7 separate regions of the Homo sapiens genome follow, and all the other regions are linked to region 7. The links are contacts of gene promoters, found by promoter capture Hi-C in blood cells and fetal thymus (Javierre and others, 2016). All regions are on one chromosome and are shown on one strand. The core of a region is centred on a gene start or on the middle of the fragment in contact, and the rest is flanking DNA. Distances in the headings are between cores, read along the strand shown.

What was found. Contacts are between HindIII fragments. The CHiCAGO score rates a contact against its expected background, and 5 or more counts as called.
Region 1: a fragment that was not itself captured here is called in contact with the fragment with the promoter of FAM210A in region 7 in 12 of 17 cell types (naive CD4 T cells, non-activated CD4 T cells, total CD4 T cells and 9 more); the score reaches 16.8 in naive CD4 T cells.
Region 2: a fragment that was not itself captured here is called in contact with the fragment with the promoter of FAM210A in region 7 in 2 of 17 cell types (naive B cells and total CD4 T cells); the score reaches 5.7 in naive B cells.
Region 3: a contact is called between a fragment that was not itself captured here and the fragment with the promoter of FAM210A in region 7, in 1 of 17 cell types (non-activated CD4 T cells). The highest score is 5.1, in non-activated CD4 T cells.
Region 4: a fragment that was not itself captured here is called in contact with the fragment with the promoter of FAM210A in region 7 in 2 of 17 cell types (total CD4 T cells and naive B cells); the score reaches 5.4 in total CD4 T cells.
Region 5: a fragment that was not itself captured here is called in contact with the fragment with the promoter of FAM210A in region 7 in 4 of 17 cell types (monocytes, naive CD8 T cells, non-activated CD4 T cells and 1 more); the score reaches 7.7 in monocytes.
Region 6: a fragment that was not itself captured here is called in contact with the fragment with the promoter of FAM210A in region 7 in 2 of 17 cell types (M0 macrophages and monocytes); the score reaches 6.0 in M0 macrophages.

What each region holds. Positions count from the first base shown.
Region 1 is chr18:13,209,455-13,212,222 of GRCh38, forward strand. The region is part of intron 1 of LOC124904255 (a long non-coding RNA gene); the gene reads right to left. Among named protein-coding and RNA genes, the nearest start is that of LDLRAD4, 7.9 kb to the right of the region's middle. The HindIII fragment of the contact is 7,533 bases long and covers 1-2,768 here.
Region 2 is chr18:12,977,364-12,980,488 of GRCh38, forward strand. It overlaps SEH1L (SEH1 like nucleoporin), which reads left to right. Exons shown (of 9, transcript NM_001013437.2): 6 at 1,389-1,529. Among named protein-coding and RNA genes, the nearest start is that of CEP192, 12 kb to the right of the region's middle. The HindIII fragment of the contact is 8,388 bases long and covers 1-3,125 here.
Region 3 is chr18:13,190,813-13,193,857 of GRCh38, forward strand. No RefSeq gene overlaps it. Among named protein-coding and RNA genes, the nearest start is that of LDLRAD4, 26 kb to the right of the region's middle. The HindIII fragment of the contact is 6,980 bases long and covers 1-3,045 here.
Region 4 is chr18:13,032,769-13,035,888 of GRCh38, forward strand. All of the region lies in intron 11 of CEP192 (centrosomal protein 192), which reads left to right. Among named protein-coding and RNA genes, the nearest start is that of CEP192, 43 kb to the left of the region's middle. The HindIII fragment of the contact is 5,250 bases long and covers 1-3,120 here.
Region 5 is chr18:13,143,088-13,145,966 of GRCh38, forward strand. No RefSeq gene overlaps it. Among named protein-coding and RNA genes, the nearest start is that of LDLRAD4, 74 kb to the right of the region's middle. The HindIII fragment of the contact is 1,435 bases long and covers 584-2,018 here.
Region 6 is chr18:13,120,891-13,123,763 of GRCh38, forward strand. The region is part of intron 44 of CEP192 (centrosomal protein 192); the gene reads left to right. Among named protein-coding and RNA genes, the nearest start is that of LDLRAD4, 96 kb to the right of the region's middle. The HindIII fragment of the contact is 4,916 bases long and covers 1-2,873 here.
Region 7 is chr18:13,724,994-13,728,042 of GRCh38, forward strand. FAM210A (family with sequence similarity 210 member A) reads right to left here and starts at 1,565. Exons shown (of 4, transcript NM_152352.4): 1 at 1,336-1,565. It overlaps RNMT (RNA guanine-7 methyltransferase), which reads left to right and starts at 1,680. Exons shown (of 12, transcript NM_003799.3): 1 at 1,680-1,736. RefSeq lists an enhancer at 743-1,668. The HindIII fragment of the contact is 3,253 bases long and covers 1,559-3,049 here.

The sequences.
Region 1 (2,768 bases), core at 159-2,658, 520 kb before region 7:
CCAGTAATGGGATTGCTGGGTTGAATGGTATTTCTGTCTTTAGGTCTTTGAGGAATCGCCACACTGTCTTCCACGATGGCTGAACTAACGTACACTCCTACCAACAGCACTTTACCCTTTTTACTTCAAGCATTTAATTTAATCATTGCCATCTAACGGACTGCCCAACAAATAATTCAAACTTTAAACGAAACATGAGGTTCTTAAGTCTTGCAGGCTGAACTGGACAGAGCAGAGAAATTCCTGAGGCAGAATCTGTGACCCAGGCCTAAAGTCTCACTATGCGTCCCCACCTTTCCAGGTGGAATGAGGTTAAAGAATGCCAAAGATCAGATGGTTGTAGATGTATGGTATTATTACCTAGGAATCCAACTTACCAAGGGATGTGAAGGACCTCTTCAAGGAGAACTACAAACCACTGCTCAATGAAATAAAAGAGGACACAAACAAATGGAAGAACATTCCATGCTCATGGATAGGAAGAATCAATACTGTGAAAATGGCCATAATGCCCAAGGTAATTTAGAGATTCAATGCCATCCCCATCAAGCTACCAATGACTTTCTTCACAGAATTGGAAAAAACTACTTTAAAGTTCATATGGAACCAAAAAAGAGCCCACATTGCCAAGACAATCCTAAGCCAAAAGAGCAAAGCTGGAAGCATCATGCTACCCGGCTTCAAATTATACTACAAGGCTATAGTAACCAAAACAGCATGGTAATGGTACCAAAACAGAGATATAGACCAATGGAACAGAATAGAGCCTTTGACAAACCTGACAAAAACAAGAAATGGGGAAAGGATTTCCTATTTAATAAATGGTGCTAGGAAAACTGGCTAGCCATATGTAGAAGGCTGAAACTGGATCCCTTCCTTACATCTTATACAAAAATTAATTCAAGATGGATTAAATACTTAAATGTTAGACCTAAAACCATAAAAACCCTAGAAGAAAACCTAGGCAATACCATTCAGGACATAGGCATGGGCAAGGACTTCATAACTAAAACACCAAAAGCAATGGCAACAAAAGGCAAAATTGACAAATGGGATCTAATTAACTAAAGAGCTTCAGCACAGCAAAAGAAACTACCATCAGAGTGAACAGGCAACCTACAGAATGGGAGAAAATTTTTACAATCTACCCATCTGACAAAGGGCTAATATGTAGAATCTACAAAGAACTTAAACAAATTTACAAGAAAGAAACAAACAACCCCATCAACAAGTGGGCAAAGGATATGAACAGACACTTCTCAAAAGAAGACACTTATGCAGCCAACAGACACATGAAAAAAATGCTCATCATCACTGGCCATCAGAGAAATGCAAATCAAAACCACAATGAGATACCATCTCACACCAGTTAGAATGGCGATCATTAAAAAGTCGGGAAACAACAGGTGCTGGAGAGGATGTGGAGAAATAGGAATGCTTTTACACTGTTGGTGGGAGTGTAAATGGTTGAACTACCATTGTGGAAGACAGTGTGGCAATTCCTCAAGGATCTAGAACTAGAAATACCATTTGACTCAGCAATCCCATTACTGGGCATATACCCAAAGGATTATAAATCATGCTGCTATAAAGACACATGCACATGTATATTTATAGCGGCACTATTCACAATAGCAAAGACTTGGAACAAACCCAAATGTCCATCAATGATAGACTGGATGAAGAAAATGTGGCACATATACACCATGGAATACTATGCAGCCATAAAAAATGATGAGTTCATGTCCTTTGTAGGGACATGAATGAAACTGGAAAGCATCATTCTGAGCAAACTATCGCAAGGACAGAAAACCAAACACTGCATGTTCTCACTCATAGGTGGGAACTGAACAATGAGAACACTTGGACACAGGGTGGGGAACATCACACACCGGGGCCTGTCGTGGGGGAGGAGGAGTGGGGAGGGATAGCATAAGGAGATATACCTAATGTAAATAATGAGTTAACTGGTGCAGCACACCAACGTGGCACATGTATACATATGTAACAAACCTGCGTTTTGTGCACATGTACCCTAGAACTTAAAGTATAATTAAAAAAAAAAAAAAAGAATGCCAAAGGCAGCTTCCAAAGGCGTGTCAAGGAATGGAGTGGAAATGAGCTGTTTAAAGCCTCAGTGCAGCGTGAGTGTCTGCAGGCAATGAGCTTCAGGCACTCCTCAGCGGCACTTCATTCAGCCCAGGGGAGTGAGCTGAGCCCTTTCCTGTGGAGGGAGGAGGCCTGCGAGGTGTCTGGGGAGTCTAATCCAGTGGGCAGACTGCCTCTCTGCTTTTCCCCGCCTGAGAGAGCTGGCTCTGCTGCTGAGTGACCCCGCCTTACAAAGTCCTCCCACATCCAAGAGTTCCCTTTTTGCAAAACCTTAAAAATGTGGTGTTATAATATAAATGTGTATGACGTTTACACACAGCTAATGAATTCACTAGCATAAAGCTAATGAATTTTTACATATGCATATACCCCTGCAACCACACTAGATGAAGACAGATCATTTCCCTCTCCCCCAAGGGCTCTCTTGCCCCTTCCCACCCACTACCATCCTGAGTGACCATGGATCTAACTTCTATCATCATCGGTTAGCTTCTCCTGTTTTGGAACATCACACAAATAAAACCATATGTTACTATTCTTTTGAGCCTGAATTCTGTCATTCAAATAAGTTTTTGTGGCATTTATCCATGTTGTGTGTGCCAGCAGTTTCATGGGTTTAAAAAAATTTTATTTTATTTTAATTTCCGGGGTCCATGTGC
Region 2 (3,125 bases), core at 542-3,041, 750 kb before region 7:
TTTATAGATAAAGAAATAGAATTGCAAGGATGAAATAGCCTTTGCATAGTTTCCTTTTATTATCACTTAACTCAATTCCTGCTGGGCGCAGTGGCTCACACCTGTAATCCTAGCACTTTGGGAGGCAGAGGCGGGTGGATCACCTGAGGTCAGGAGTTCAAGACCAGCCTGACCAACATGGTGAAACCCTGTCTCTACTAAAAATACAAAATTAGCCAGGCGTAGTGGTGCACGCTTGTAATCCCAGCTACTCAGGAGGCTGAAGCACGAGAATCACTTGAACTCAGGAGGCGGAGGTTTCAGTGAGCCAAGATTGCGCCATTGCACTCCAGCACAAGAGTGAAACTGTCTCAAAAAAACCTCAATTCCTGTTACCAGCTTTACTTTTTTATTTACATTCAAATACTTAGGCAATGTGTTACTCTTTTCCTAAGAAAGATGTTAGTGGCTAATAAATCAAGCCCTTTTTTATTTTTTATTTTTGCAGTTGAGTCTTACTGTGTTGCCCAGGCTGGAGTGCAGTGGCGTAATCTCAGCTCACTGCAACCTCCGCCTCCTGGGCTCAAGCCATCCTCCCACCTCAGCCTCCTGAGTAGCTGGGACAATGGGTGTGCACCACCATGCCCAGCTATTTCTGTATTTTTTGTAAAGATGGGGTCTTGCTGTGTTGCGCAGGCTGGTCTTGAACTACTGGGTTCAAGCAATTCTCCCACCTCAGCCTCTCAAAATGCTGGGATTACAGGTGTGAGCCACTGTGGCCAGCCAAGACCTTATTGTAATTAAATTTTTATTAAAGCGTTTCGAGCTAAATGTACATTATTAAAGGAGGAAACGTGGGAGGTTGTATTAATTTCCTAGGGCTGCCATAACAAATTACCACAAATCAGGTGGCTTAACACAGAAATGTATTCACTCACAGTTCTGGAGGTCGGAAGTCTGAAATCAAGGTGTTGGGGCTGTGCTTCCTCTAGAATCCTTCCTGGTCTAGTCCAGCTCCTGCTGGCTCCGGGAGTTCTTTGGCTTGTGGCAGCATAACTCCAATCTCTGCCTCTGTGTTCACATGGCTGCCTCCTCTCTGTCTCTGCGTTTCTTCTCTTCTTTTTAAAGAATACTTACTGCACGTTGGATTTAGGACCCACCCTAAATCTCGGATGTCATTCTGAGGTCCTTAATTACATTTTCAAAGACGCTATTTTTGAATAAGGTCACATTCACAGGGTCTGGGGGTCAGGACTTGGACATATTCTTTTGGGGGCTGCTGTTGAGCCCACTACAGAGGTGAGCACTACATGATTGTGAGCAGTGTGAAAAAAAGGTGAGATGCAGTGATGTGTGGATTTTTGCACATTTTATTTCTAAAATGTTAATGTCAATTGTTTTTCCATTAGGAAATATGCAAAAGCTGAAACTCTTATGACAGTCACTGATCCTGTTCATGATATTGCATTCGCTCCAAATTTGGGAAGATCTTTCCATATTCTAGCAATAGCGACCAAAGATGTGAGAATTTTTACATTAAAGCCTGTGAGGTGAGTTTTAGAAGCATTTATGAATTTGAAAATACTCTTGCCTTCTGATTACCTTTGTTTGTGGAGGAGAGAGTAGAGGTAACTATGATTTGGTTTATATTTCTGCTCTGGAAGTTTTACTTAAAAATGTAAACTTTGAAATGTTTTTTAAAAATGGTCTTTTACAGTTACTTTTTTTTCTTTCTTTTTTTTTTTATTGATCATTCTTGGGTGTTTCTCCCAGAGGGGGATTTGGCAGGGTCATAGGACAATAGTGGAGGGAAGGTCAGCAGATAAACAAGTGAACAAAGGTCTCTGGTTTTCCTAGGCAGAGGACCCTGCGGCCTTCTGCAGTGTTTGTGTCCCTGGGTACTTGAGATTAGGGAGTGGCGATGACTCTTAACGAGCATGCTGCCTTCAAGCATCTGTTTAACAAAGCACATCTTGCACCACCCTTAATCCATTCAACCCTGAGTGGACACAGCACATGTTTCAGAGAGCACAGGGTTGGGGGTAAGGTCACAGATCAACAGGATCCCAAGGCAGAAGAATTTTTCTTAGTATAGAACAAAATGAAAAGTCTCCCATGTCTACTTCTTTCTACACAGACACGGCAACCATCCGATTTCTCAATCTTTTCCCCACCTTTCCCCGCTTTCTATTCCACAAAACCACCATTGTCATCATGGCCTGTTCTCAATGAGCTGTTGAGTACACCTCCCAGACGGGGTGGTGGCTGGGCAGAGGGGCTCCTCACTTCCCAGTAGGGGCGGCCGGGCAGAGGCGCCCCTCACCTCCCGGACGGGGTGGCTGGCTGGGCGGGGGGCTGACCCCCCCACCTCCCTCCCGGACGGGGCGGCTGGCCGGGCGGGGGGCTGACCCCCCCACCTCCCTCCCGGACGGGGCGGCTGTCCGGGCAGAGGGGCTCCTCACTTCCCAGTAGGGGCGGCCGGGCAGAGGCACCCCTCACCTCCCGAATGGGGCGGCTGGCCGGGCGGGGGGCTGACCCCCCCACCTCCTTCGCGGACGGGGCGGCTGGCCGGGCAGAGGGGCTCCTCACTTCCCAGTAGGGGCGGCCGGGCAGAGGTGCCCCTCACCTCCCGGACGGGGCGGCTGGCCGGGCGCGGGGCTGACCCCCCCACCTCCCTCCCGGACGGGCGGCTGACCCCCCCACCTCCCTCCTGGACGGGGCGGCTGGCCGGGCGGGGGGCTGACCCCCCCCCACCTCCCTCCCGGACAGGGCGGCTGTCCGGGCAGAGGGGCTCCTCACTTCCCAGTAGGGGCGGCCGGGCAGAGGCACCCCTCACCTCCCGGATGGGGCGGCTGGCCGGGCGGGGGGCTGACCCCCCCACCTCCCTCCCGGACGGGGCGGCTGGCCCCCCCACCTCCCTCCCGGTCGGGGCGGCTGGCCGGGCAGAGGGGCTCCTCACTTCCCAGTAGGGGCGGCCGGGCAGAGGCGCCCCTCACCTCCCGGACAGGGCGGCTGGCAGGGCGGGGGGCTGACCCCCCCACCTCCCTCCCGGACGGGGCGGCTGGCCGGGCGGGGGGCTGACCCCCCAACCTCCCTCCCGGACGGGGCGGCTGGCCGGGCGGGGGGCTGATCCCCCAACCTCCCTC
Region 3 (3,045 bases), core at 483-2,982, 530 kb before region 7:
CCCTATCTCAAAAAAAAACCACAAACAAACCAAAACACAAAATTAAAATCATTTGACCCAGCAATCAACCTTTAAGAGTCTATCCTATAAAAATGAGAGAATCAGTGGCGTGTGTGTGTGTGTGCGTGTGTGCGGGTGTGTGTGTGTGTGTGTGTGTGTATGAAAGTTTATTGCAGCATTGTTGCAGTGGCAAAAAAAACCCAAATGACCTAATGTCCACCAATAGGGCTGTACAAGTTAGGATATACTACTTTATCCAAAGGAAATAAGCCAAATAGCTCAAAAAAATAAATGGCCTAAAACAGTTTTCCTTGCAAGACTGCAGAAGAGCTGCACAAATTGCCCTTGGGAGGCCAGGCGGAGGGTCTCTCCCGGGATGCATGTTCACTCTTGCCACAGCTGGAGGAAGCAGGCCCTAAGGCTTGCACTGCAAAGTGATGAGAATGAAGCCCTGGTTATGCTAGACTTCAAGGCATGCATGCTCGGAAGGGTAACAGGATATTGATGAACTGTGAAAAATCTCTGCTACAAAGGGAATGGTTGGATAAATTGTAGTTCTATCTAACTATGGAATATTATGTATTCCTAACAAAATGAGTTAGACTCATGCTGGGAAGATTGCTCGTGGTCTAGTAAGTGATTAGCAAGTGGCAGAGTGAGATGCATACAATTATCCCACTGAAAACAACAGCCAACAAACATCTGCATGTACAAGCGTTTCAATTTGTATGAACGTGTGTGGAGGGACACATATATGAACGTGTGTGGAGGGACACATTGGGTACATCAGGGAAGGGGAATTGAATGAGGGCTGGGGATATTGCGTTAACTTTAAAAATGTATATCTTTGGGTAGTCTCACTTGTTAACATGAGCATGCTTGATTTTCCTAATTTCAAAGGAAAGTTATGTAAAAAAGGTAAACATTATTAAATAAAAAAACCTTTAGTTTTTCTAGTTGAGGATCTCTTTACCCCAAGACGATTCCAAGTAATAAAAAGCAAACATTATTTCACAATGTGTCTGTGTGTATTTCTAAAGTCTGCTGGAATGATATCTGTGTCTCCCGTGCTCATTTGCAATGTGAACTTGCTGCTTTCTCATGGAGAGGTGGAGTCTATCTCTCCACCCCCTAGAATGTGGCAGGGGGTCACATTCCAGGGTGATGCTGGGCCAGTGCCAGGCGGGGCCCTTCACTGGCCTGAAGCCCGGTGCCAGGAGAAAGGAGTGCAAATATCCTGAGAAGGCTCTGCAGCGAGAAGCCCAAGGCCTGTGGGGAAGCCGCAGAGGATAAGCTGCCTTGAAGGGAGGCAGGCTGAGGAGCCCAGGGTGCCGAAAAGTGAGGGAAGAAACCATCTCACAAATAGATCCTGGCACCCTCACCCTCGCTGGTGCCATGTGCATCGAGACCAACTGCCCCGCTCAGACTTCCCAAATTCTTGACCCACAAAAATGTGCACAAATAAAGTGGTTTTTAAAAAAATAATAAAATCTCATTTTATTAATAAAATTAATAAGTTGATTAACCTAGTTATAGGGCAATTTTTTATGCAGCAAAGCACATAACAACCGCCTGGTTTCTATAAGGAAAAAAGTCTCCTCTACATTTCTTTACATAATTTGTTTTTTATATTACATGTTAACATATTTTGTCTTTTTTTTTTTTTTTTGAGACGGACTCCTTTTTCTTGGCACCCAGGCTGGAGTGCAGTGGTGCGATCTGAACTCACTGCAACCTCTGCCTCCCCAGTTCAAGTGATTCTCCTGCCTCAGCCTCCTGAGTTGCTGAGATTACAGGTGCTCACCACCATGCCTGGCAGCGGTGCGATCTCAGCTTGCTGCAATGTCTGCCTCCCCGGTTCAAGAGATTCTCTTGCCTCAGCCTCCTGAGTAGCTGAGATTACAGGTGCCCGCCACCATGCCAAGCTAATTTTTAGTAGAGATGGGATTCCACCATGTTGGCCAGGCTGGTCTTGAACTCCTGACCTCAGGTGATCCACCCGCCTCAGCCTCCCAAAGTGCCGGGATTACAGGCATGAGCCACTGTGCCTGGCCTGTCTTTTTTTTTTTTGTTTAAACCAGAGATCTTTCTCCTTTCACTTACAGGATCAAAAAAGCAAATTAAAATAGGAGGTAAAAGAAAAAGCATTAAGTTTTACGTAAAAGGTATTATAATATTGGTATTTGTTTGGGAAAAACACCTATAACCAGAGACAACAAACTTTTTTTTTTCCAAATAAGCTACATTGCCCGTTATTTTAGTAAGTAGTACACTGTAATTGTTATGTGTTTTTTATTATTCTTTTACATGTCTTAAAATTTTCCCAGCAAAGCCTTACTAGTATTGCTGAAGAGACACTTTTTCTGCTTACTTGGGGAAGTTTGCTCTCTGAATTAAAAAATAAACAAAAGAGTGAAAGCTCTGTCATCCTTTTCTCTCTTTCCTCTCCTCTGTATCCTTACCCCTCCCTCATTCTGCTTTCTTCCTGCCCTCTTCTGCTTTTCCCCACAATCCATCAGAGTACTTCTGCATGAACAACAGGATCTGACTCCAGGTCTCCCAGGAAGGAAGGGTGCTTGTAGGCACATGTGCTCAATGGCAGGGTAAGAACAAGGGCTGGAACCCAAGCAGGCGCTATGTGTTCTCTGGAGGGAGGGCACATAGCATACCGACTCCAGCTTGGGCATCCCTTTGGGTGAATTTGACTTCCGGTAATTCCCACTTCTTTAAACCACTCTCTTAAGCCCTGCAGAACATCTCAGTGGCCCAGCCTACTTACAAGTTGTCCCCTGTTGAATGGGGTAGGAGGAAAAGATCTCTAGCAGGAAGCACAAGGGAAGATGGTCCAACATGGAGATGGGGTGGCTGGTAGGAAAGGTTTGCATACTGCACACAAATGGCCACTACAAATTTAATTTCATCAAAGTTATGCTTTAAAAATGCAACAAAAATTCAAGATGAAAATACCCTAAGACACAGAAATCCCATTCTAATGCAGACACTAAGAAAAACTCTCACACCTGTGTACAAAGAGACAGGTACAAG
Region 4 (3,120 bases), core at 219-2,718, 690 kb before region 7:
TGCAGAATCACCCTCCCCTCCCTCAGCCATAGAATGGATTATGTTTATTCATACCCTGGAATATTAGGTTGCAATGAGAATGAGTGATGTGAAGTTACATGCAACAACATGGATGAATCTCAGGAACATGTGGAATGACGTAAAGCTGACTAAGAACACACACTCTATAGTTCTATTTGTATACAGCTGGGCAATGCACTCCTGCAGAGCCAGCCACAGGGCAGTGGCTACATGTGGATGGGCAGGTAGCATGGGAAGCAGGCTCGGGTGGTTTGGGTACTGGCAGTATTATGCTTCTTAATCTGTGCTGTTGGCTATGCAGATGTGTTCAGATTGTGAAAATTCCTTGAGCTGTACACTTCACCTCTCTATCGTAAAAAGTTTTTAAAAATTAGCAAACTGAGAATAAAAGATTTGCAATTCATATTACAGGTTTAAAGCCCATTCCCCTAATATATAAACAGTTCCAATAAACAATAAGAAAAAGACCAACTACCCCAAAATTGGAAACAATTTATAGAAAAAGAAATAAAAACGATCGTTAAATGTACAACAAAAAATGTTCATTTTTAATCATGGAAAGAAATGCAGTGTAAATCCACCCAGTCATAGTATTTTTCAGTTATTTCCTTGGTAGTGATCCAAAAGTTTGGTGATAAAACTGTCTTAGCAAAGATGTGAGGGACACAGGTATGCTAGTCCATTCTTGGCACCGCGTCTACCTATAATGACATTGCAGCATCTAGCAAAGTTACGCATGTACTATCCTGTAACCGAGCAGTTCTGCTTCTGGGAATTTATTCTTCAGATACACTTGCATAAATGATACATGGTGTATGTGCAGGCTCATTACTTGCAGCATTGTCTGTGATAACAACGTTAGAAGCAATGTAGATGGACAAAATAGGGTATAAATTAAGGTGCATCCATACAAGGAGGTACCCTGTGGCTATACAGAATGGTAAAGGAGCTCTTTAGTTACTCAAATGGAATGATCACTGGAATAAATTAAAGATAAAGTCCACCTCAAAGCACATAAAGTATTCTAACATTTGTGTAGAAAGGTAGGAGAGGGGAGGATGTACATACAGATATTTGTAAATACATACAATGGAAAGATAAAACAAGATACTGACTACAGGAATGTCTAGTTACTTGAACTCAGAAATCAAAAATTCAGATAGACATTTCAGAAATATTTTAGCTGTTGGTTGCTTCTGGGGGTGTGGGAAACTAGGGTCAGGGATGGGGAGATAGTTTTCAGTATATACCCTTGTAAGTCTTTGGTTAACTTTGAAAAGCTCTTTATTGTGGTGTCATAAATACACCTTTTAAATTTGAATTATTAGATGTATTACTATTAAAAAATAAAAAATGATAACGGAAAGATTGAATGAAACCATCCTTGTGCTTAGGGAATGAATACTAGTCTGGTTGGAAAGGATGACTAGCATGGGTGGGGAGGAAAGGGAAACGGGGAGATGGAAAGCTATTAAAAAGGTTGGTGGACAGAAAACCTGATGGGTGCTGGGAAGGATGGACTAGATCCAGGGAAATAGGGGTGGAGGTAGCATTAATGAAATGGGAGCCTTTTTACTGAAAAGGAGAAAGGAACTTTAAAAATGTAATAAAAGGAGATATTCAGAAAAGGAAGGTTGGAAAAAAGGGTGTAATCTTGTAACGTCCAAGTCATTTTAAATGAAAATTTGCCTACTTATAAACTTTATTCAGAACAGTTCCTTAAGAGAGCCTGCCTCGGCCGGGCGCAGTGGCTTACGCCTGTAATCCCAGCACTTTGGGAGGCCAAGGTGGGTGGATCACCAGGTCAGGAGATCGAGACCATCCTGGCTAACATGGTGAAACCCTGTCTCTACTAAAAAAAAAAAAAATACAAAAAATTAGCTGGGTGTGGTGGTGGGCACCTGTAGTCCCAGCTACTCAGGAGGGGGCTGAGGCAGGAGAATGGCGTGAACCCAGAAGGCAGAGCTTGCAGTGAGCCGAGATTGCACCACTGCCCTCCAGACTAGGCGACAGAGCAAAACTCTGTCTCATAAAAAAAAAAAAAAAAAAGCCTGCCTCCTCTTCTTCCCCATGCCTGCCTTCCTCCTTGCCGACAGCTCAGCTCCATCTATTCAAGGTGCTGCATTGCTGCCGCTTATGACCTGAGAGTTCGACAGTGGGGGAAACACAAATGGGCTGCTTCCACGTTTGGCCTCGGAAGCATTCAGTACAAGAGGATTGTTGTTTTAGGTATGCCAAAGAATTGGCATAGATTCTCATAAAAAGTGAAGTTCTGCTTTCTTATTGGCTGTGATTGATTTCTGATGAGTAGACAAGATAACAGTGTTAATATAGATGTTTCTTTGATGAATCCCTTATAGTTCAGAGAAAAAGCATTTAGGAATATAATAAATCCTATTTTGAGCTGTTCGGTCAATTATTTAAAAACCAGGTGATATTTAACTCCTCAAAGTAAATTAAGTTTCTTTTGGGTTACCTTCTGTATTAGTTTGTTTTTATGCTGCTGATAAAGACATACCCGAAACTGGGAACAAAAAGAGGTTTGCTTGGACTTACAGTTCCACGTGGCTAGGGAAGCCTCAGAATCATGGTGGGAGGCAAAAGGCACCTCTTACATGGCGGCAGCAAGAGAAAAAATGAGGAAGAAGCAAAAGTGGAAACCTCTGATAAACCCATCAGATCTCGTGAGACTTATTCACTATCATGAGAATAGCATGGGAAAGACCGGCCTCCATGTTTCAGTTATCTCCCCCTGGGTCCCTCCCACAACATTTGAGAATTCTGGGAGATAACAATTCAAGTTGAGATTTGGGTGGAGACACAGCCAAACCATATTACCCTCTTTTGGGCCGAGTTTCCTACTTCCCTTCTCTTGGCTGTCAGATTTGGTTGGTTGCTCCTTTCATCTTTTAGGGCAGTGGTTTTTAACTTAGCTTGAGTCATAGATTCCACAATGAATCTTCATAGAAATATATGGAATGTATGATTTTGCATGTAATTTTGAGGGCTTCATGGTTCTCCTGATGCTCATTCCTAGGTTCTGTGCTGTAGGTTAAGAATGTGTTTTTTCTTAGGCTGGGCATTTTGGCTTATGCCTGT
Region 5 (2,879 bases), core at 51-2,550, 580 kb before region 7:
AGTAGCTTTGTGTTGTGATATAAAAATGTAAGCTATATTATTGAGTGAAAAGCCAAATTGCCCACCAGTATGCAAAGCAGATTTACTCTTATTAGAAATGGAGGCTGAGCATGGTGGCTCACGCCTGTAATCCTAGCACATCAGGAGGCCAAGGCGGGTGGATTGCTTGAGGCCAGGAGTTTGAGATCAACCTGGGCAACACGGCAAAACTCCATCTCTACAAAAAATACAAAAATTAGCCTGGCCCAGTGGTGCATGCCTGTAGTCCCAGCTACTTGGGAGGCTGGGATAGGAGTATCAATTGAATACAGGATGTGGAGGCTGCAATGAACCAGGATCACACCACTGAACTCCATCCAGTCTGGGTGACAGCAAGATCCTGCCAAAAAAAAAAAAAAAAATCTAGCAGAGGACAGAGGAGTGTATACAGATAAACAAATGCATATTGTGTTTGCATCCCCTATATTAGTTTTCTATTGTTGCATAACAAATGATTACCCAAACACCAGGGGTTTGGTCTAGGTCCTGCTGCTCACAGCACAGAAAGCCAGTCATCAAGACAACCAGTATTGGCAGGGAAGAAAGCTTTAATCGGGTGCTGCAGCTGAAGAGATGGGAATTCAGTCTCAAGTCCGTCTCTCTGACTATCTAAAATTGGGAGTTTATATAGAAGGGAAGAAATGTAACTACATGCAGGAAAACAGTAATTAGGGAAGAATGAGGAAGAGGAGTTGGTCAACAGGCAGCAGGTGGTGCTCAGGCAATCATGAGGGTTGAGGGCCTGGCCACTCATCCTCCAGAGGCTGTGAGCTTGTAAGTTTCAGCTCCTTGATACTACCTGGGAGTCCTGATGGTCGGTTTCCTGAGAAAGGAACTCAGATAAGACAAATGTAACTTTCTCAAGTTTTAAGACTGAGAGGGTCAATTTCTATGTTTATTCAAAAGAAATGATAAACATCAGTTTTATGGGACAATTGGTCAGGTTTCAAAACTACCACAAACTCAGTGGCTGAAAATAATGCCTGCCTTTTTCTCACAGTTCTGTAGGTCAGAAGCCAGCACTGCCTGGCGGATTCTCTGCTCATGGTCTCAGGAGGCTGAAATCGAGGTGTCAGTCAGCTACATTCTCATCTGCAGCTTGGAATCCTCTTCCAAACTCATTCAGTATTTGGCAGCATTCAATTTCTTCTTGGCCATCAGCCAGGAGTCCCTGTCTCCTCCTAGAGGTTTCCCAGCTTCTTCAGCAGATCACAACATAGATGCGTCCTTTCCTGGTTGGTATCTGTGGGGGATTGGTCCTGGGTTCCTGGGACCTGTGCAGATAGCAAAATCAGCAGGTTCTCCTGACCTGCAGTCGGCCCTGCAGAACCCGTGGGTAGGAAGAGGCAGCATCCACTCTCCAGATCTGCGGGTTCTGCATTCCACAAATACTGTATTTTTGGTAAGTAGTTGGTTTAATCCATGCATGTGGAACCGTGGATATGAAGAGCTGACTGGGCTTGCTTTCTTCCAGACCAGCAGAGTGCATCAAACTCCAGGCTTCAAAGGGCTCATCTGAATAGGTCAGACCCACCCTTGATGATCCCTCTTTTGCTATAAAATGTGACATGATCAAAGGAGTGACATCTGATTCTACTTACAGGTCCATCCTCAAAATCTCAAAGGACCCCAAATAGCCAAAGCAATCTTGTAGGGAAAAAAAAAACTGGAGGCCTTACACATTCTGATTTCAAAACATATTGCAAAGCTATAGTGATCAAAACAGTATGATACTGGCATAAAGACAGAATAGAGTCCAGAAATAAACCCTCACATATATTGTCAAATAATCTTTGACAAGGCTACACAGTGAGGAAAGATAATCTCCTCAACAAATGTTGTTGGGGAAACAGGATATCCACATGCAAAAGAATGAATTTGGGCTCTTACCTTATACCATATACAAAAGTTACCTCAAAATGGACAAAATCCTAAATGTAAGATCCCAAACTGTAAAACCCTGAAAGGAAAGGGGAAAAAGCTTTATGGCATTGGAATTGGCGTTGATTTCTTGACTGTCACACCAAAACAGAAAATAGACAAATGGGACTATGTCAAACTTAAAAACTTCTGTGTGACAAAGGAAACAGTCAACATGGTGAAAAGGCAACCCACAGAATGAAAGAACACATTTGCCAGTCATTTATCTGATAACACGTTAATATCCAGAATTTATAAAGAACTCCTACAACTCAACAACAACAAAAAAACAAACATGCTGATTAAAAACTAGATAAAAGACTTTAATAGACATTTCTCCAAATAAGATACACAAATTGCCCACAAACGTATGAAAAGATGTGCAACATCATCATTAATCACCAGGGAAATGCAAATCAAAACCACAGTGGGATATCATCTCATGCCCATTAGGATGATCACTATACAAAATAAAAATAAAAAAAAAAACTAAAAAAAAAAAAAGTTTTGCTGAGGATATGGAGAAATTGGAAACCTGCATTGCTGCTGGGAATAAAAATGGTGAATGTTTTAGTCCATTTTTTGTGGCTATGAAGGAATACCTGAGGTTGAGGTTGGGTAATTTATAAAGAGAAAAGGTTTATTCGATTCACAATTCTGGATGGCTGGAAAGTGCAAAGCTGGGCATCTGCATCTGGTGAGGGCCTCAGGCTGCATCTACTCATAGCAGAAGGTGAAGAGCAGTCAGCATGTGCAGAGATCACATGGTGAGAGAGGAAGCAAGAGGGCAAGGGGGGCGTGGTGCAGGTTCTAGTTAACAACTAGCTCCCACAGGAACTAACAGAGCAAGAACTCATTATCGCAAAAATGACACCAAGCCATTCATGAAGGATCTGCCCCCATCACCCAAACACTTTTCA
Region 6 (2,873 bases), core at 94-2,593, 600 kb before region 7:
ACTCTGGGTTATAGGAAACTTTATTTTACGCAAAGAAAGGTGGAAACACTGGCTCCTTTGTAACAGAGAATGACCTGTGTTGACCTTGGAGAAGCAGCAGGACAGTAGAGGCAGATACCACAGGAACCCCAGTGACAGTTCTTACCACAGAACTGAAGTCATGGGGACTTACGGCATTGTGTGCTATTGTATTTGTCCCAGACACGAGACACTGTGACTTTAGACAAAGGTTCACAATACATAATTGCCAGATGAGAGCAGCAGTTAGCTTGCCTTGGCAGTGCAACAAAATCTGTGTTCTTAAAGCCCTGAGAAGCAATTCCCAGCCTTTAGTTAATCACATTTTTCATTTGTTAGATCACTGTGTGCTCTATGACACCATTAACTACACATTTCCAAAGCAATAATAGGATTGTAGTCATCTGTAGGGTACAGGAGATGATTACTTACAAATATGCACTTTTTCCAAGGCCACCGGAAGGCCTGGTGGGGCTGCTCTCCGAAAGCTCCAGCACTAGCACAGGAAAGTGGCTGCTCCTTACAGGCTGTAAGCTGATTCTAGCTTAAGGAGGCAGAAGAGTTCCCCCAAGAAGGTACAGGGGTTTTGCTCAGTGCAGAGGTGGGTGAACACGAATGTATGATAGATTATAAGTAAGGTTATAGGGAAAAGGAAACATTACTAACAGGTTTTCTTGTAAAGGTTCTTTTTTGAGGGTTCTGAGAGATCATCTCTTTCTTATATCTTTTTTAAAAGAATTTATGTTTCTACTTAGTCCCCAAAAGCATCTTTCTCTTAACCTATTATTTTATGACCATCTAACCCCAGCTGAGGTGTTGTAGCTAATAGGTTCCACCTCAACTGTGCCCTCATGTCCTTGCACAGTGCAAGGTGCACAATCCTGGCAGACCCTGCATGTCATTTGGGAGAGAAGGACAGTTCCTAGAAAAGTGACAAGCCAAGGAATAGAGTTATCATTGAGCTGCAGTGACTTCTCACCCATGTGTGGGAACAAATTTTATTACCTTTTTCAGTTTCTTTGATAATGGTGGTACCTTGTATGTGCTAGTGTACTGGCTTTTTTTCTGTGGAAACTGTTCCTTTAAAAAAATGTTTTGGGCCGGGCATGGTGGCCCATGCCTGTGATCCCAACATTTTGGGAGGCCAAGACGGGCGGGTCATCTGAGGTCAGGAGTTCAAGATCAGCCTGGCCAACATGTGAAACCCTGTCTCTACTAAAAATGCAAAAAGCAGGCCAGGCGCGGTGGCTCATGCCTGTAATCCCAGCACTTTGGGAGGCGGAGGCGGGTGAATCACGAGGTCAAGAGATCAAGACCATCCTGGCCAACATGGTGAAACCCCGTCTCTACTAAAAATACAAAAATTAGCTGGGCAAGGTGGCGCATGTCTGTAATCCTAGCTACTCAGGAGGCTGAGGCAGAAGAATCGCTTGAACTTGGGAGGCACAGGTTGCAGTGAGCCGAGATCGTGCCACTGCACTCCAGCCTGGCAAAAGAGCGAGACACCGTCTCAAAAAAACAAAGTAGCCGGGCCTGGTGGCATATGCCTGTAGTCCCAGCTACTCAGGAGGTTGAGGCAGGAGAATGGCTTGAACCAGGGAAACAGAGGTTGCAGTGAGCTGAGATCGTGCCACTGCACTCCAGCTTGGGCGACAGAGCGAGAATCCGTCTGAAAAAAAAAAATGTTTTGAAAGGAAGGAAGGAAGTGTGGTTGCTAGAATTTGTAGGTTCCACTAAGCCCTTTCCATGTAGATGGGGCCTGCAGGGAGTTGGGGGCTGAGTGTGCACAGCCTGATGGCCTCTCTGCTCCCTAGATGCATTTCTGCTCTGCGTGCCTTTGCAATTACATCTATCATTAGCTAGAGAGAGGATCTGAACTAGACCTCCCCACTGGGTTCAGAGGACTTTCCTGCTACCTTTTCCCGTGTGTGTGTGTGTGTGTGTGTGTGTGTAGAGATTAAATTAGTTCTCAATAATAGTATTACAAAGTACTTTTTAAAATATATCCATCTTGCTGGGAGTGTTCTATAGCTGTATTAAATGTTGTGGTTCTTTCTAAATTGCATTCCATTTTATTCAGTGTATCTGTAAATCTAAAGCAGATGATATATTTTTAATCACAATATACTTAAATTTTCAGGTTAATATAGAACAATTCTATATTCTGTGATGAAATTTATTAATAATGAGTTCTTCCAGAGATTTTTTTGGGGCTATTTTATTATTTTTACTAATTCATAAGTTATAAAGCCTCTTAAATAGGCAAATGGTACTATATTTATCCAAGTATTGACCACCAACATGCAAGAGAAAATTGTAGCTAATGCCATGGGCCAGGTTAGATTTTTTTTAAAAAGTACATTATCTTTGACATGGTAAAACAAATGTAATGCATTTGGGGAAAATAACCCAGACTTTAAATAAAAACATATAGAGATACACATACACACCTTTGCTCTATATAGATATATTTAAGAACATACACTATTTGTGTTATCAGTTATATCCAGGAAAAGGGCTTTGAAATACTGAAGCTGTTTTCTAAACCTCATGCCCGGTGTACTCTTGTGCACCCAAGAGCGACACTGCTGGGATTTTCAGGACAGATGCTGGAAACCGAAACGTACATCACTTCTGGTTGCCAGTCTTTAAAACACACAGCTCTGAGACGAGACTAAGGGGTGAAGTACCTTCCCTGTGAGCTCAGAACTTTCACTTAAAAACGCCTAAGCCTAGACGTTGATGACATCACATGGGCTGTGTGTAATGTGTTTGTAGCCTCATTCACACTGTGAATAACTTGTTAAATTGCATATTTTGAGGTGTATTTTGAAGCTCTTAGGACATAGTTTTAG
Region 7 (3,049 bases), core at 315-2,814:
AAACTCCTGACCTCGTGATCCAACCGCCTCGGCCTCCCAACGGCTGGGATTACAGAAGTGAGCCACTGCACCCGGTGTTTAAAAACATTAAAACATGTTTTTAAAAGTCAAAATTACACTCATTTTCTGTAAAATTACAACAGCAATTATCTCAAGAAACTTAAGCATCAGGAACAGGGAATGTAATTGCCTGGTTCTAATGCTTGTATATGCCTATAATGCATTCGATCTGTAAGACCTACACTTTTGCAGTTGTCAATATTCATGTAATGAGATTAATTCTCAACTTACCTCATTTCATATAATAACAAATACAAGCAGTCATCAGAAATTGATGGGTCATCCTTATTTGTGAAAAATAGGCCTCATTCTTGGTTCAAAGTTTGTAACCTCAAATGGGCTAATGCCCACAATTTAGAAGTGATTAGATTGGAAAGCACAACGCTGCAAATGCTGCCTTCCCCAAAGCCAGGTCTATTCATTAATATACCTGTGCCTACTGACAAGAAGGAAGGCTGGTAAAGCACATTTTCAAAGCTGTTTTAAATGGATCAATTTTGGTAAAGAGTAATTCAAGACGGATTGTAAATCTGATCAGTTTTACAACCTTGGAAGGTGGGGACTTGACGCACGACGTTAATATGCACACGCTTCAATAATCTATCCACAGGTAGTTTTGACCCTGATCTCAGGTTGAAAGTCCTCAACTATGGAGCTTTCGAGTTTCAGTACAGTAGGCGCTTTCACTCCCCAGTAGAAATCTGGGGTGATGGCCAAAAAAAGTGTGTTGTCTCCCCCAAACCACACCATGCCAAGTTCAGCCAACGCAGACTAATGCATCCTTAGGTATTTGTCAAGAAGAGGTATAGGCGGTCCCTTTTCTCAGAATCTAACAGGTAAGAATGGCCTCTTGTGGCTTCCCAAACACGGCGGTAAGGACCAGTCTGCCAGTCCCTAATAAGAAATTGCTAATTTTAAAAACCATTCCGAACGCGGGCGCTTCCGGGCCCCTCTTCAACTGGCTTCGGAAGAAGGGGGGAGAACACGGTGAAGGGTTACAGCAAAGGAGGCTGAAAAACAGTCCCAAAGCAAGATTTGCCAGGACACTGGCTCGACCCGGAAGGGCGGGGGGACCTCTCTCGGCCGCCGGGGTCTGTGGGGTCGGCGAGTGTGGACGACCCGTCTGGCAGTCGTACACTGCCACAGCCCGAAGAGCGGCGCACGCGGAGCAGTTGCCGGGTTCGCGCCGCGAGTCAGCTCCCGGACACACGCCCAGGGTTGAAGGTGCCCTCTAGACCCCTCCCGCTGCCCCACAGAGGCCTGGGCCCATGCTACCTCTTAGGACGCTGGAGCCGCCGCCGCCGCTTCCCGCCGCGCAGGCTGGACCACAGCTCCTCGGATGCCACGGCGGTGTCACTCAGCAGAGCAGCCCGACAAAGCGTGGGTCCGCGTGCAGGAACCCGCCGGGCTCAGCCGGACGCTAGCCCCCTGCCGCCCCCGGCCCCGCCAGCCGCGCCCACTAGCAACGTGCTCGCGACCTCCAGTGCCCGCTCAGTGAAGCTTCTGCATGCCGCGCGCGGCACGTCGGGACTCGTAGTTCCGGCGCGGAGGACGTGCGTCGCGGCACTCTCGCCTGACCGTCTCCACGTGACTCTCGCACCTCCGGAAGTGACGTAAGCAGACACGCGTGGCGCGGGCCGCCGTTTCCGCAAACAGAATCGCGTTTGGCTGTGCTGGTGAGTGTGACGGCTGGAACTCCGGCCCTTCCTTTCTTTGTGTTTGTCCCTCGGCCGCCGTGGAGGGGTGGAACTGGCACTCCCACCCCTGACATGGGCTCACTTCGCATTAGCCCTGTGCTTCACTACCCAACGCGTGGGTCTATTGCCTTGTGTCCTCAGTCCCAAGGAAAATGGGAACTCCTTGGGGTGGGCGGGCGCTGTTCCTCCTCCAGACTGGGCGAGCCCGGGTGGGAGAAGCAGCTCGAAGAGCTGCTCCAGCTCGCGCCCCAGGGCCGTGCTGGGGAGGGGCGTGGGGTCCGCAGGTTTGTCTTCAGCGGCGCTTCGGAAACCTGAACCAGAGGTTGAGTAACAGGCCGCGCTAATGACGGAGGGGGTGAACTTGGCTGGAGAAGTCCCTTCTCGCCTCTGTGCGTCCTCTCGGGCCCCGTGGTAGAGGGTCAAGCGGGCGGGTCGGGACTTAGAGCTTATCCCGCTTGGGCTTTATCCCGGCGGCCCTGGCGGCCTGCTCGCTCGTACCCTGAGGAGCTGAAATGACGCAGAGACATAGCTTGCTTCGGAGGTGTGACTGGAAAGCCGGGTCGAAATGTTCGTGTGGTTATTTATCGCGTGTCCATCTCCATGTCAGTCGACCACCTTTCGAAGGTTTCTTGAAGATTCTGAGGGACAGCTCTCTTCCCTATGGAGTGTTTTCATTATTCCACTTTGAGTTTGGTTTGGGTTTTTTTTCCCCCAATTTGTTAAATTGATACATAGAAGTTGCACATATTTGCAGGTGCAGGTGATACTTTGATACATGCATACAATGTGTAACGACTAAATCAGGGCAATTGGGATATTTGTCATCTCAAACATTTATCTTTATGTTGGGAACATTCCAATTTTTCTTTTAGCTATTTTGAACTACACAATAAGTTATTGTTAACTGTGTCCACCCCACTGTACTATCAGGCACTAGATTTTATTTCTTCTGGGGTTTTTTGTACCCATTAACCAATTTCTCTTCTTCATCCCGCTCCTCTTCCTGCTACCCTTCCCAGTCTGTGGTAACCACCAATCCACTCTTTACCTCCATCAGGTCCACATTTTTAGCTCCCACATGAGTAACAACATGATATTGTCTTCATGTGCCTGGCTTATTTCAGTTAACATAATGACATCCGGTTTCATCCATGTTGTTGCAAATGACAGGATTTCATTCTTTTTAATGACTAATATTCCATTGTGTATATATGCTACATTATCTTTATTCATCTGTTGATGAACGCTTAGGTTGATTCCATATCTTGACTATTGTGAATAAACTTGAGACT